4 separate regions of the Homo sapiens genome follow, and regions 1, 2 and 3 are each linked to region 4. Evidence: promoter capture Hi-C in human tissues and cell types (Jung and others, 2019). All regions are on one chromosome and are shown on one strand. The core of a region is centred on a gene start or on the middle of the fragment in contact, and the rest is flanking DNA. Distances in the headings are between cores, read along the strand shown. Region 1 overlaps LOC107986098 (a long non-coding RNA gene). Region 2 has its middle 28 kb from the start of EBLN2. Region 3 overlaps PPP4R2 (protein phosphatase 4 regulatory subunit 2). Region 4 holds the start of GXYLT2 (glucoside xylosyltransferase 2).

Evidence for each region. The method cuts DNA at HindIII sites, captures the fragments that hold promoters and counts their contacts. A contact is called where the count stands out against the background at its distance.
Region 1: a fragment that was not itself captured here is called in contact with the fragment with the promoter of GXYLT2 in region 4 in 2 of the 25 tissues and cell types used here (mesendoderm cells and stomach).
Region 2: a fragment that was not itself captured here is called in contact with the fragment with the promoter of GXYLT2 in region 4 in 1 of the 25 tissues and cell types used here (spleen).
Region 3: a contact is called between a fragment that was not itself captured here and the fragment with the promoter of GXYLT2 in region 4, in 1 of the 25 tissues and cell types used here (bladder).

The regions. Positions count from the first base shown.
Region 1 is chr3:73,113,004-73,116,061 of GRCh38, reverse strand. It overlaps LOC107986098 (a long non-coding RNA gene), which reads right to left. Exons shown (of 3, transcript XR_001740754.1): 2 at 1,726-1,840. Among named protein-coding and RNA genes, the nearest start is that of EBLN2, 53 kb to the right of the region's middle. The HindIII fragment of the contact is 3,247 bases long and covers 1-3,058 here.
Region 2 is chr3:73,087,788-73,090,981 of GRCh38, reverse strand. No RefSeq gene overlaps it. Among named protein-coding and RNA genes, the nearest start is that of EBLN2, 28 kb to the right of the region's middle. The HindIII fragment of the contact is 5,374 bases long and covers 1-3,194 here.
Region 3 is chr3:73,044,573-73,047,843 of GRCh38, reverse strand. It overlaps PPP4R2 (protein phosphatase 4 regulatory subunit 2), which reads right to left. Exons shown (of 9, transcript NM_174907.4): 3 at 488-658. Among named protein-coding and RNA genes, the nearest start is that of EBLN2, 15 kb to the left of the region's middle. The HindIII fragment of the contact is 3,331 bases long and covers 1-3,141 here.
Region 4 is chr3:72,886,780-72,889,835 of GRCh38, reverse strand. GXYLT2 (glucoside xylosyltransferase 2) reads right to left here and starts at 1,790. Exons shown (of 7, transcript NM_001080393.2): 1 at 1,328-1,790. The coding sequence starts at 1,602. RefSeq lists silencers at 1,291-1,420, 1,521-1,750. The HindIII fragment of the contact is 12,200 bases long and covers 1-3,056 here.

The DNA of each region.
Region 1 (3,058 bases), core at 339-2,838, 230 kb before region 4:
TTCACTGTAGCTCTCTTAGCATGGTGCCTGGCAGGCAGGAGCAGCTCAATGTGTGCTGCCTTAGTGAACTGCCATGTGTTATGTTCTATTTTTATTCTTTTTTTAATTTCTTATTTTTAGAGACAGAGTCTCACTTTGTCACCCAGGCTGGAGTGCAGTGATGCAATCATGGCTCACTGCAAGCTCGACCTCCTGGGCTCAAATGATTCTTCTGCCTCAGCCTCCTGAGTAGCTAGGACTACAGGGGTGTCCTACCACACCTAGCTAATTTTTTTAGTTTTTATAGACACGGGGTCTCACTATGTTGCCCAGGCTAGTCTTGAACGCCTGGACTCAAGTGATCCTCCCTCCTCAGCCTTCCAAAGTACTGGGATTACAGGTATGAGCCACCTCACCCCGCCATATCTTTATTCTTGATTGGTCTTCAATCAGGCCATGGCTCCCCCCAGCCTTGAGGAACTGGAACGGACAGACTGTGTCTCACTTATCTTTTTATTCCTAGAAACTGGCACAAAAGCCCTTAACACTTTAAAATTTTTTCCAACCTCCAGCTATAAGCCAGGCATTGTGGAAGATACAAAGAGAAGAAAGGTAGGATTGCTGCCTGTGATAACCTGCCTTTTATTTATAGTAACAGTGATAAAAATGACTCAAATGCAAATGTTTAATATGAAACTGTGTTAATGCCACGCATACATTACTTCGTTTCATTCTCCCAACAGCCCCTTGATAGAGGGTGTCTTCCCCACCCCCACCCAAACCCGCAATTTTACAATCAAGGAAACTACAGCTCTGAGCAATTAAGGAATTTGCCTTGGTTCTAACTTGCTGTCAGCTAGAGAGGGCAGAGCAAGGATGCCCACCCAACACAATCAGGAATATTGAGCAATACTTGGCAGTGTGTGGTTTCACACGCAGGATGATGGGAGGGCCAAGAAGGACACACCATAATCAAACAGCAGTGAGGGCCACTGTTCCAACAAAACTGCTAGGGTTGCAAGTGACAGAAATGGAAATCCAACTCAATGTGGCTTTAAAAAGAGAGAAAGGAAATTCATTGGCTCAGTACATGGAAAAGCCCAGCCATCTGAACGTAGCTGGATCCCAGATGCTCAAACAATGTCAGGAAGGCTCATCTCTAAGCCTGGGTTCCACTTTCCTCTGGGTTCCTTGCCAGGCAGGCGTCTGCTCTGATGATGGCACAGATGTCACCAGCTCCAGGAGCACATCTTGCAGCTTAGCATCCCCAGCCAAAAAAGAGGGCATCATTCCCGGGAACTCCAGCAAAGTCCTGAGTCTGACTCTTATCCCAAGCAGACTGCTGTGTGTGTGACTGGCCTGGGTCATTTTCCCACCCCAGTCAATGTGAATGAAGTTGTGGATCAATCTCCCCAAGCGGACATGGACCTCAAGAGGAAAGGATTAACCCCAAGGCACTGGCCACCAACAGGCAAAGATAGCACAATTCAACTCTGGCCACCATATTTGTTTAGCTTCTCTCCCAGCCTGATACAATAAAATAACATTTTAAAATTAAATGTTAAGTTAGTAAAAGTAATTGTTATAAATTAAATAGTAAAAATTAAATTATTTCCATTTAAAAGATGTAAATAAAGAATATAAATGAAAATTTTAAATATATGAATGAAATAATTTTTTGAAACTACGAGCAGCTTTATGATAGGCTGGCTGTGAGCTGTAAACTAGAAAGGGAGAGAAAGTTACCTGTAAATTTTTCTTTGTCCACAAAAATAAAGGCAGATGTCTGAGTGAGCACCAGCAAATGCTACAGAGGCACTTCTTATTCCAATGGCTGGGAAATGGTGAATTAATCAAGAATCTGTCCAGATGAGATACAAAAACAAAAAAATATATACACAATATTTTTGAAAATAAACATTTTATTGTAGAGTGATTTTAGATTTACAGAAAAGTTTCAGTGATAGCACAGAGGGTCTCCTTATACCCCTCACTTGGTTTCCCCTTTTTTTTTTTTTTTTTTTTTTTTAATTTGAGACAGGATCTCACTCTGTCACCCAGGCTGGAGTACAGTGGTGCAATCATAGCTCACTGCAACCTCAACCTCCTAGGCTCAAGTGATCCTCCCACCTCAGCCTCCTGAGTAACTGGGACTACAGGTGCACACCACCATCCCCAGCTAATTTTTTTGGATCTTTTTATAGAGATGAGATTTTGCCATGTTGCCCAAGTTGGTCTCTAACTCTTGAGCTTAAGTGATCCACCCGCCTCGGCCTCCCAAAATGCCAGGATTGCAAGTGTGAGCCACTGCCCCAGGCCAGTTTCCCCTGTTATTAACATCTTATCATGATTTGTCAAAACTAAACTGACATTGGTACATTTCACCAATTTTTTCATTCATATCCTTTTGTTTGTTCCAGGACCCAATCTAAGCTACCACATTGCATTGAGTCATCATGTCCCCACAGTCTCCCATGTACTGTGAGATTTTCTCAGGGTTTCTTCATTTTTTTATGACCCTGACAGTCTTAATGAGTGCTGGCCAGGTATCCTGTAGAATATCTCCCATTGTGGGTTTGACTGATGCTATTCTCATCTCATCTGGGGCTACATACATAACATTTTGTTTTAACTTCAAACATATAGATTATCATCACTAGCCAATATTTTGATGAACGATGAATACCTTTAAGGATGGGTTCCCTAATTGGAGTTGCACATCTTCCTTGCATGAACCACAGCCATAATGTACCATCTCTGAATTCTGGATTCAAGTTCTTTGAAGAAGCTTTATCAATTAAGAATGCTTTGGGTTGCAATTAAGAATGGCTTAAGCAATGCAGATATTTAATAATCTTATATATCAAATACTCTCCTCTCTCTCTCTTTTTTTTTTTTTTTTTTTTTTTTAGACAGAGTCTTGCTCTGTCGCCCAGGCTGGAGGGCAGTGGCGTGATCTTGGCTCACTGCAACCTCTGCCTCCTGGGTTCCAGTGATTCTCCTGCCTCAGCCTCCTGAGTAGCTGGGATTACAGGCATGCACCACCACACCCAACTAATTTTTTTTTTTTGTATTTTTA
Region 2 (3,194 bases), core at 456-2,955, 200 kb before region 4:
AGTTGTGGTTTTTTTTTAGACGGAGTCTCGCTCTGTCGCCCACGCTGGAGTGCAGTGGCGCAATCTCGGTTCACTGCAAGCTCCGCCTCCCGGGTTCACGCCATTCTCCTGCCTCAGCCTCCCGAGTAGCTGAGACTACAGGCACCCGCCACCACGCCCAGCTAATTTTTTGTATTTTTAGTAGAGACGGGGTTTCACTGTGTTAGCCAGGACGGTCCCGATCTCCTGACCTCGTGATCCGCCCGCCTCAGCCTCCCAAAGTGCTAGGATTACAGGCGTGAGCCACCGCGCCCGGCTAAGGTCAATTTTTTTAATTGAACAGGCAAAAGAAATCCAGGATCACTCCATGTCTGGGTTTGGCCAATATTTTCCCAAGGCACCAGAGAGTAAATATTTAAGCTTTTCAGGCTAGTAAGAGCTCAATCCCCACCACCCTCAGCAATGTCTTTGAAATTCAAAAGCAGCCATGGACAGTAAGTAAAGGAATGGGTGTGGCCACGTGCCAAGAAAACTTTATTGAAGATGCTGAAACTTTAATTTCATGTAAGTTTCACATGTCTTGAAGCATTCTTCACTTGATTTTCCCCCCAATTGTTTAAAAAATGTGAACCCATTCTTAGCTCACAGGGCTGTAATCGGCCAGCTCCTGGTCTGTGGTGATGGCCTCTTCATTTCTGCAGTGATCTCACTATAGCTTAGGGGTGTGTCCAGCTCGGGGCACCTGTGTTAAGAGGAATATTAACCAGCGAACTGGTATGCCATCAGTCTGGTGCCAGGATGGGAGGAATGTTGAAAAACTTGGGGCCGTAGATCCTGAGGAAAGAAAATTTGGGATTAGAGGGCAAGAGCAAAGTGGAATGAAACCTGCCATCAAATAGGTGATGGGCTGCGGGAGGGGGATCCCGGTCTCAGATGCAGCGTGGCCAGGTAGGACAAGGTGGCTTTGGGGCTTCACCCAAAGGAGAAATATTAACCATTCCTAGAGCTTCCGTGGAGAAGGAAGCCCTGGAGCAGCGACCAAGATGCACTTAAGGCACCAGTGGATCAGTGGATGGGATGCCCTCGGTGTCCCCACCCCATCCCTGTCCTCACCACCTCAGGGCACATGCACCCTCCACGGCCAGAACCTGCATTTCTTTTTTCTTGCTTGCTTTCCCTCTTTCTTTCTCTTTCTCTCTCTCTCTCTCTCTCTTTCTTTCTTTCTTTCTTCTTTCTTTTTTTTTTCTCGCTCTGTCACCCAGGCTGGAGTGCAGTGGCGCGATCTTGGCTCACTACAACCTCTGCCTCCTGGGTTCAAGAGATTCTCCAGCCTCAGCCTCCTGAGTAGCTGGGACTACAGGCTCCCACCACCATGCCCGACTAATTTTTGTATTTTTAGTTAGCGACAGGGTTTCACCATGTTGACCAGGCTGGTCTCGAACTCCTGACCTCAAGTGATCCGCCTGCCTTGGCCTCCCAAAGTGCTGGGATTACAGGGGTGAGCCACCGCGCCTGGGCGTCCTGCATTTCTTTACCTGGGAGCTTCCTTGGCTGCCACTGTCTGCTCTGCCCACCCACAAGGCAGGTCAGAAGCACAGGGAATTAACCCCCCTCAGAAGCAGCACTTCACCCGTGTTGGTGGGTAAATGTCCCAGTTGTGTCCCCACTGGGAGAATAGCTCTGTGGGGTGTAGTCTACACCAAAGAGTTCCTCAGCAGGGCCAAGCAAGGGTGAGCCAAGAGAAGAACTCACTCCCAGGCCCTGCAAATTTTTAAACTTTAATAATTATACATGGCCAGGCATGGTGGCTCACGCCTATAATCACACTTTGGGAGGCCAAGGGAGGCGGATCACTTAAGGCCAGCTGTTCGAGACCAGCATGGGCAACATGGCAAAATCCCGTCTCTACTACAAATGCAAAAATTCGCCGGCTGTGGTGGTGCACACCTGTGGTCCCAGCTACCGGGGAGGCTGAGGTGGGAGGATCACTTGAGCTCAGGAGGTCGAGGCTGCGGTGAGCCAAGATAGCACCACTGCACTCCAGCCTGTGCAACACAGTGAGACACTGTCTCAGACAAAAATATATATATATATTATATGGGCTGTCAATCAAGTGCGTAATAATTTTTTCTTTTCTTTGCATTTTTTGAGGGGAAATTTATCTTCCGAGCCTGACTCCTCCATGCCACCTGAAAGAAGACGTAACCTCATCTCATTCCGATTCCCTCCATGATTTCTGGGGATTTCTGCATCTCTCTGAGTTGAATCCAGTGATTCATATGGTTTCCCTCGGCCTCCTTCTCCTTCCCTGGGGTTGCTCGGGGTCTCAGTCCAGACTGACACATCCACTTTCTCTCTCTTCTCTCAGCAGCCTTCTGAGCGGCGATCACCTGTTCTGCGTGTTTCCATGTCTTCTCTTGAACCCTGACCCAATCTTGCGCTTACAAGTTTAGAACGTTCCTCCCTTTGTTTCTCCTCTTCACCAGCGCCCTTAAACTGAAGAGCTCCCACCTGTAGCAGGCCAACAGGTAAGCCTAAAGACAGGAGGTTGCTTGTGTCAGTTACCTGTATGTCCCCTGTCTATGCAACAGCTCAGATATGTGTCCAGCAGGCATTTCCGATATTTTCAAGACCCAGCTCCCAAAGGTGGCCCCATGTGGACCCGTCCCCACCTCAATATAGGGCAGTGACTCTGGCCAAAAATCTTGCTTGGCTCATGTTTCTTGGCTCATGTTTCTTTCATAGTCCATATTCAATCGGTCAACAAGTCTTGTCAGGTCCATCTGCAAAATGTATCCAGAATTTTATGCTGTAGAATATTATTCAGCCATAAAAAAGAATGAAATCCTGTCCTTTGCAGCAACATGGATAGAACTGGAGGTCATTATGTCAAGTAAGCTGGGCACAGAAAGAGAAATATCACATGTTCTCACTCATATGCAGGAACTAAGAAAAAGTGGATTTCATGGAGGTAGAGAGTAGAATGATGGTTACCAGTCTGAGAAGAAAATCAGGGGATGAAGAGAGATTGACTACTGGGCACAAAAATACAATTAGAAGGAATAAGATCTGGCCAGGTGCGGTGGTTCACGCCTGTAATCCCAACACTTTGGGAGGCCAAGGCAGGCGGATCACGAGGTCAGGAGTTCGAGACCATCCTGGCCAATATGGTGACAGAGTAAGACTCTGTCTCAAAAAAAAAAAAAAAAAAGAAG
Region 3 (3,271 bases), core at 227-2,726, 160 kb before region 4:
AATATCTTTTTAGTGTTTTTAATGTTTTACAAGCGGCCAAAAATGGTTACTTGTAACTAACAAGCAAGCCGTTACTTAGGAGAGAAATGATGACTCCAAAAAAAGTCTAAACAAAAACTCACTAAAATACTTCCATAAATTAGTATTTCGTTTTAAAAGAAATGTGATTTCTCAATGATATAAAGGTTCTATATAAAGTATGAAGACATAACACCAAATATAAAACAGGAAAGAAAAACCATTAAAATGTTTCCTGATAAATGACTGTTTCCACTGATACCTATAAAAAGGTGGTTCAAGTTTTTTAAGAGGCTACAAATATTTTAAATAGTTGTAAGCTAAAAATCATCAACTACTACATGTCACTAGAAACAAGGAATTTATTCTAATGGATAATCAATCATCAACCAGACACATCAAAACTAAAAGAAAAATCTATTCATCTTCTGCTAAAAATTAAATCTTTAAAACAGTATTAAGTGCATACCCATTAAATCCAGTGACAATTTTCAGTATTCTTTCCTTCATTTCATCAAAGGGAATATATTCGACATTAGGGTTGGGAGGACCTCTTGGCTCAGGAGCTGAAGTTCTGAAATCATCCATCACTTTCTCCAGTTTGAAAATAAAATAGCCTTTAAATTGGGACCACTGAATCCTATAAGCAAAAAATTAAAAAATATATAATACCATGTAGCTTCACAATTCTTGAACACAAAACACAAATATAAAATATACTATGACACTAATACTAACAAAATTAAGATGTGAATAATTAGTAATGAGAATGCCGTCATTGAAGAGCACACATCATGCCTCATTTATCACAAGCTCCATCCTGATGCTATCCAACTCCCAACCCAAACAAAACCCAGATCTCTCATTTAGATCTTTTAAATGAACTACCTCTGCCTGAAAGTCTATGGTGTGTTAGGTCCTATTCTTAGTATGTTTAAAATAATATTTTGACTCTTTCACTCATAACAAACCTAACCAGGTGGGCATTAGTTACACTATCCTATTAAGTCAGAATGAATCCATACCTTAATCATCCAAGTTACAATGTTTGCATGGACTAGTAAAATTTGTCTATTATCTACTAAATAACAAAATAAACTTTACTTTCTCCTTTTTTTTCCCCTTTCAGTTAATATCTTCAGGCTCTTTTGTCACTTAAGAGACAAAAGGCATGTACCTATGATTAAGGCACATAATCACAGGTTCTATCCAACCAGTACTTGCACAATAAAAATACATAATTTGCTTAGGTACTTTTCACATCTATTCATTTATCAAATTAACATAAACACCTTTTTATCCCTCTTTCCTCACATTTCACCAGTAATATAAAAGGAAATTTTGTGAGGATACCTGCCTGAATAGTGTAAATTCCAGGAGACACGGGAGTCAGGAATGCTAACCATTTCCTCAGGCAGACAGTACTACCATTAGTGACAGCAGATCAATCTCTTTACACAGGTTGACTACTTAAACAAATTTACACAAATTAACGGGAGCCCATCTGTAATCACCTTCCATCCCATGCAGCAACCCTATAAACTAGGGTAGCAGTTTTCAAATTGTGGTCCAAGAGGTCAAAGCTATTGTCAAAAGAATAAGGGCTGACTAGTTCACTGTTAATGTGTGCACTGATGGTATAAAAGCAAGGTGGATAAAACTGATAATCCATGTAGCAAGAGTCAGGACAGCAGCACCAAACTGTATTACTAGCTGTAGCAGAAGCCAGAATTTTCACAAACTCGTAATTTTAAAAATCTGTTCCACTTAAAGTGTAAAAGATATAAAAATTACTAATTTCATTAAATCCCAACCCTTGAATACATCTTTTACATATTCTGTGTAACAAAATGAGAAACAGGTATTAAAAAAATTATGCTGCATATCAAAGAGGTATGAGATTCTCAAAGAACAATACCTTTATTTAGACCGCTGCCAGCTGAACTAGCTATTTTTCATAGAACAGCATTTTAACCTGAAAGGACTGCCACACAAATAAAGCTTATTTAGATTAGCAGACTGGGTGTGATGGCTCACACCTGTAAACCCAGCAGGCGGATCACCTGAGGTCAGGAGTTCGAGATCAGCCTGGCCAACATGGTGAAACCCTGTCTTTACTAAAAATACAAAAATTAGCCAGGCGGGGTGGTGCATGCCTGTAATCCCAGCTACACAGGAGGCTGAGGCAAGGAGAATCACTTGAACTGAGGAGGTGGAGGTTGTAGTGAGCTGAGGATTGCATCACTGCACGCCAGCCCGGGCGATGAGCAAGACTCCATTTCCAAAAAAAAAAAAAAAATTAGGAGAATGTGGTAGACATTTTCTCAAAAATAAATAAAGTGAACCTGTCATTTCAAGATAAATAACTGACAGTATTTGTTACCAATGATAAAAATTTGAACTTCTAAGCAAAAAACTAAAAGTCTGGACAATTTTTATTCTTCACTGTGAGCTTGAAAGCTTCCTGATATAGTCCCAAAATATTCTGAAGGCAACCAGTGTCGACATAAAAATATTATACGAGGCCAGGTGTGGTGGCTCACGCCTGTAATCCCAGCACTTTGGGAAGCCGAGACAGGAAGATCACTTGGGCCCAGGAGTTGGAAGCCAGCCTGGGCAAACAGCAATACTCCGTCTCTACAAAATAATTAATTACTAATTAATTTAAATTAGGCATGGTGGTATGCACCTGTAGTCCCAGCTACTCAAGAGGCCGAGGCAACAGGATTGCTTGAGCCCAGGAGGTAGAGGCTGCAGTAAGCCAAGATCACACCACTGGAATCCAGCCTGAGCGACAGAGCAAGACCCTGTCTCTTAAAGATACTGTGTGATACCAAAAGCACAAGCAACAAAATTGATAAATTGAATTACATCAAAATTTAAAATTTTGTGCATCAAAGGACACTATCAACAGAGCAGAAAGTCAAATCGTGAAATGGGAGAAAATATTTGCAAATCTTTTATCTGATAAGGGGTTAATATCCAGATTATATAAAGAACACCTACAACTTAACAAAAAAGATGACCCAATTTAAAAATGGGCAAAGTACTTAAATACGCACTTCTCCAAAGAAGATATACAAATAGCAAACACACAAGATGCTTAACACCATTAATCTTGGGGAAATGTAAATCCAAATCACAATACCACTTTACACCCATTAGGGTTGGCTATTATCTAAAAAACAAGTGAACAAGTATTGGCTGGCCAAGGATGTAGAGAAACTGAAACTTTCCTTTCTGAGACAGTGTC
Region 4 (3,056 bases), core at 541-3,040:
AAGTGTTAACTGTGACTATTTGTATGTACTGCGGTTAGCACTGTCCCTGGCAATAGGTTAGCGATGTTAAGGATGACAGTTATTATTATCTTACCAGTTGTCCCATCAAACTTAGCAATCATATTAAACTTGCAGTTAAACCCTAATTAATCTCTTACAAGAAACTCCAGTATAGAAGAGGGGAAATCCTATTAATTTCCTAACAAAGATATCCTTAAAGACTGTATACATCCAGAAAGGGCTGTAAAGTGTTATAAGTACTTTAAAGCGACAGATTGTTGGGGTTTTTTCCCCCTAAAACTTGTCAGTACCCATTTGTACTGAGACAGAAGGGAAACAAAGGCTGACACAGCTACTTCTTGAGGTTTCGTGTCTTTTAGTTACAGTAAAGGCACCAAAGAGATTTAGTCATTATGGTCAAAAATAATTTTTCAACTCCTTTCAGGTTGAAATTAAGGAGCCCAGCAAACAAGGACGTTGCAATGGCAGTTAGAAACAACAGTTTTGAAAGGGCAGATGAAACAGACTCGCTACAAGACAAGGGGATTGTTGAAAAGCCCTCCACAACAAAGGAAATGAACTCAAATCCCTAACCTGCGGGGCGTTCCAGCAACCCTGAGGCCAAAAATAAAGCTCTCTGATGAAAAGCCTCCGCGTGTTAGGCTTTGTGTAGGGAAAGAGAGTATCAAACAGAAGGTCGAAGGTTAAGTTGTTTTTCTTGTAGGAGGACCCTTTGACCACACTCGAGCCTGAAACAGAATGAGGATCTGGAAACCCCCACTCTGTCTTTTCTGTGCCACGCATCAGTCCTTTCAAGGAGAAAACTTCTTTTTAATAAACTTAGGTCAAGTGTCCCTTCTGTTCTAAGCATGGGGGTACTCGAGGTTAAATGAGAGGCTGCCAGTCCTTGGTAAACATCTAACTTTTCCAACTCAACCATATCTAAGGTTTCGGTAAAATTCTCCAGTGAAACATGAGAATTAGATAAAACATTCTTGCACCGTGATGGCTTTTGACAAATTAAACAAAGGGTGCATGTTTGCAAGAGTGCAAAAATACGCCTTGCCTTGACAGTTAAAAAATGTAATGTACGAAACCACTTTCCTTGACACTTCAAAAAATGTACGTGATTATCAACACCGAGCTGTTAGGGGGACTCCACCAAGGTGGGTCTTCTTTTCTATCGGGTTAAGAAACAGAAGTGGGCAGCCCGTGGGTGAAACTTGGAAATCTGTCTCTCCAGCGCAAAGCCTCCCTTGGACTTGGCACGGGTGTAGGGAGCGAGACACGGGTCCGCAGATGGGATTCTGGGGTTGCCACGACTCACCTCGCCAACTTCTCCAGTCTCGCAGCGCCCCGGCGGCCCGCTCGGGGGCGCGGACGCGGGGGCCGGCGCCTCCGAACTCCCGGGCTGGCCCCGGGGAGGGCGCCCGGCCCCGGCCAGCGCGCGGGGACAGGCGCGGGGTGGCGCTGCGGGGCGGACGCGGGGCGCGCGGGCAGCGCTGGGGGCTCAGCGCGGCCAGCGCGCAGGGACAGCAGCGCCAGCAGCAGCGCGGCCAGCGCGAGCAAGAGCAGCGCCGCCGCCTTGCTGCGGAGCTTCATGGTGCGGCGCGGCGGCGGCGGCGGCCCCCAGGCGGCTCGGCCCCTCTGCGCATCGCGGCGGCGGCAGGATGAGTGCAGCAGCGCGCGGCGGTCGCCTCCTCCGCCCGCCCGCCGGGGACTGGGGTCGTGGCGGCCGGCGGGCGGCCGGCGGCGGCGGCGACGGCGAAGGAGGAGGAGAGAGAGGAGAGGAGGGGGAGGCGGTGAGAGCTGGGTTACAGGAGGAGCAGCCTGCGCCTACCGTACTGTGTGGAGTAGCCGCCCCTCCGCCCGCCCGCAGCCAGGCTCTCGGGCTTCTGGTAGCTCAGACTCAAAACCACTTCATTCATTCATTCGTTCGTTCGTTCGTTTACTTCCCCATTCACTCACACACCCATGCCATCCACTGTTCCCGCTGATTCTCTCATACCATGATTCACTTATTTGTTGATGTATTCCATGTGCTTCCTCCTTATTTATTTTATCCATCTATCCACACATTTGTGCACTTATCCACACATCCTTTCAGGCAGGAACATCTCTGTCCTGTTTGCCCAGTGCAGGGATCTGCGGGTGGTGGTGCCCAATAAATATCTGTTGAATAAACCCCTATTGCCGCCTCTGTCTTGCCACCTCCCTTTTTCCTGGAGGAGGACATATTCAACAAGGACACATGCAAAATAAGGCAAAGCGAGTAAAAGTAACACGTGATTAGTAGTTGGGGTTTCAGACTCAAAACACCAAAGTAGAACTTGGGACAGCTAGACTGGACCGAACCGATCCATGTAGTCTGAAGAAATTAGAGAATGAATTTCAAAGTTTGGATTTGAAATCTGACACTGTGCTTAACTGGCTTGGTGATCCTGAGGAAGCTGCACAACTTTCTTAAGCCTTAACTTCCTTACGTGCAAAATGGGAATGACAATACTGCTCACTACAGAGGCGTTTTGTGAGCATTAAATTAAATAATGCCTTCAAAGAAACTAGCACAGTGCCTGGCTCACAGTCGGTGCCCAATAAAAGTTCTGTAATGATTAGTTCAATAAAACATAGCTTATAATATACACATAAACACACATTTTATTTTCTTTCTGGCACAGATTTGAGATAGAGTAATAATTTCACAACACAATGTAAGAATGGCTTCTTTGGAGACTTTAACAGCTGCAATCGCCAGATGAAGGTCGTAATTTCCAGACGATTCTTCCAGGGGATCCCCAGTTACAAATCTGAAACATTAGGACACATCCTCTTATGACTCACGGTGAACTGACAGCCAGGACTCCATTAACTCTCTTTTCAGCACACCACAGAACAAAGAACACTAGTTAAGTTATAACAACGTCCCTGAGTTTTTCAGTTTTTTTTTTTTTTTTTTTTTTGGATCACTCTGTAGCCCAGGCAGGAGTGCAATGGTGCAATCTTAACTCACCGCAGCCTCCGCCTCCCGGGTTCAAGCCATTCTCCTGCCTCAGCCT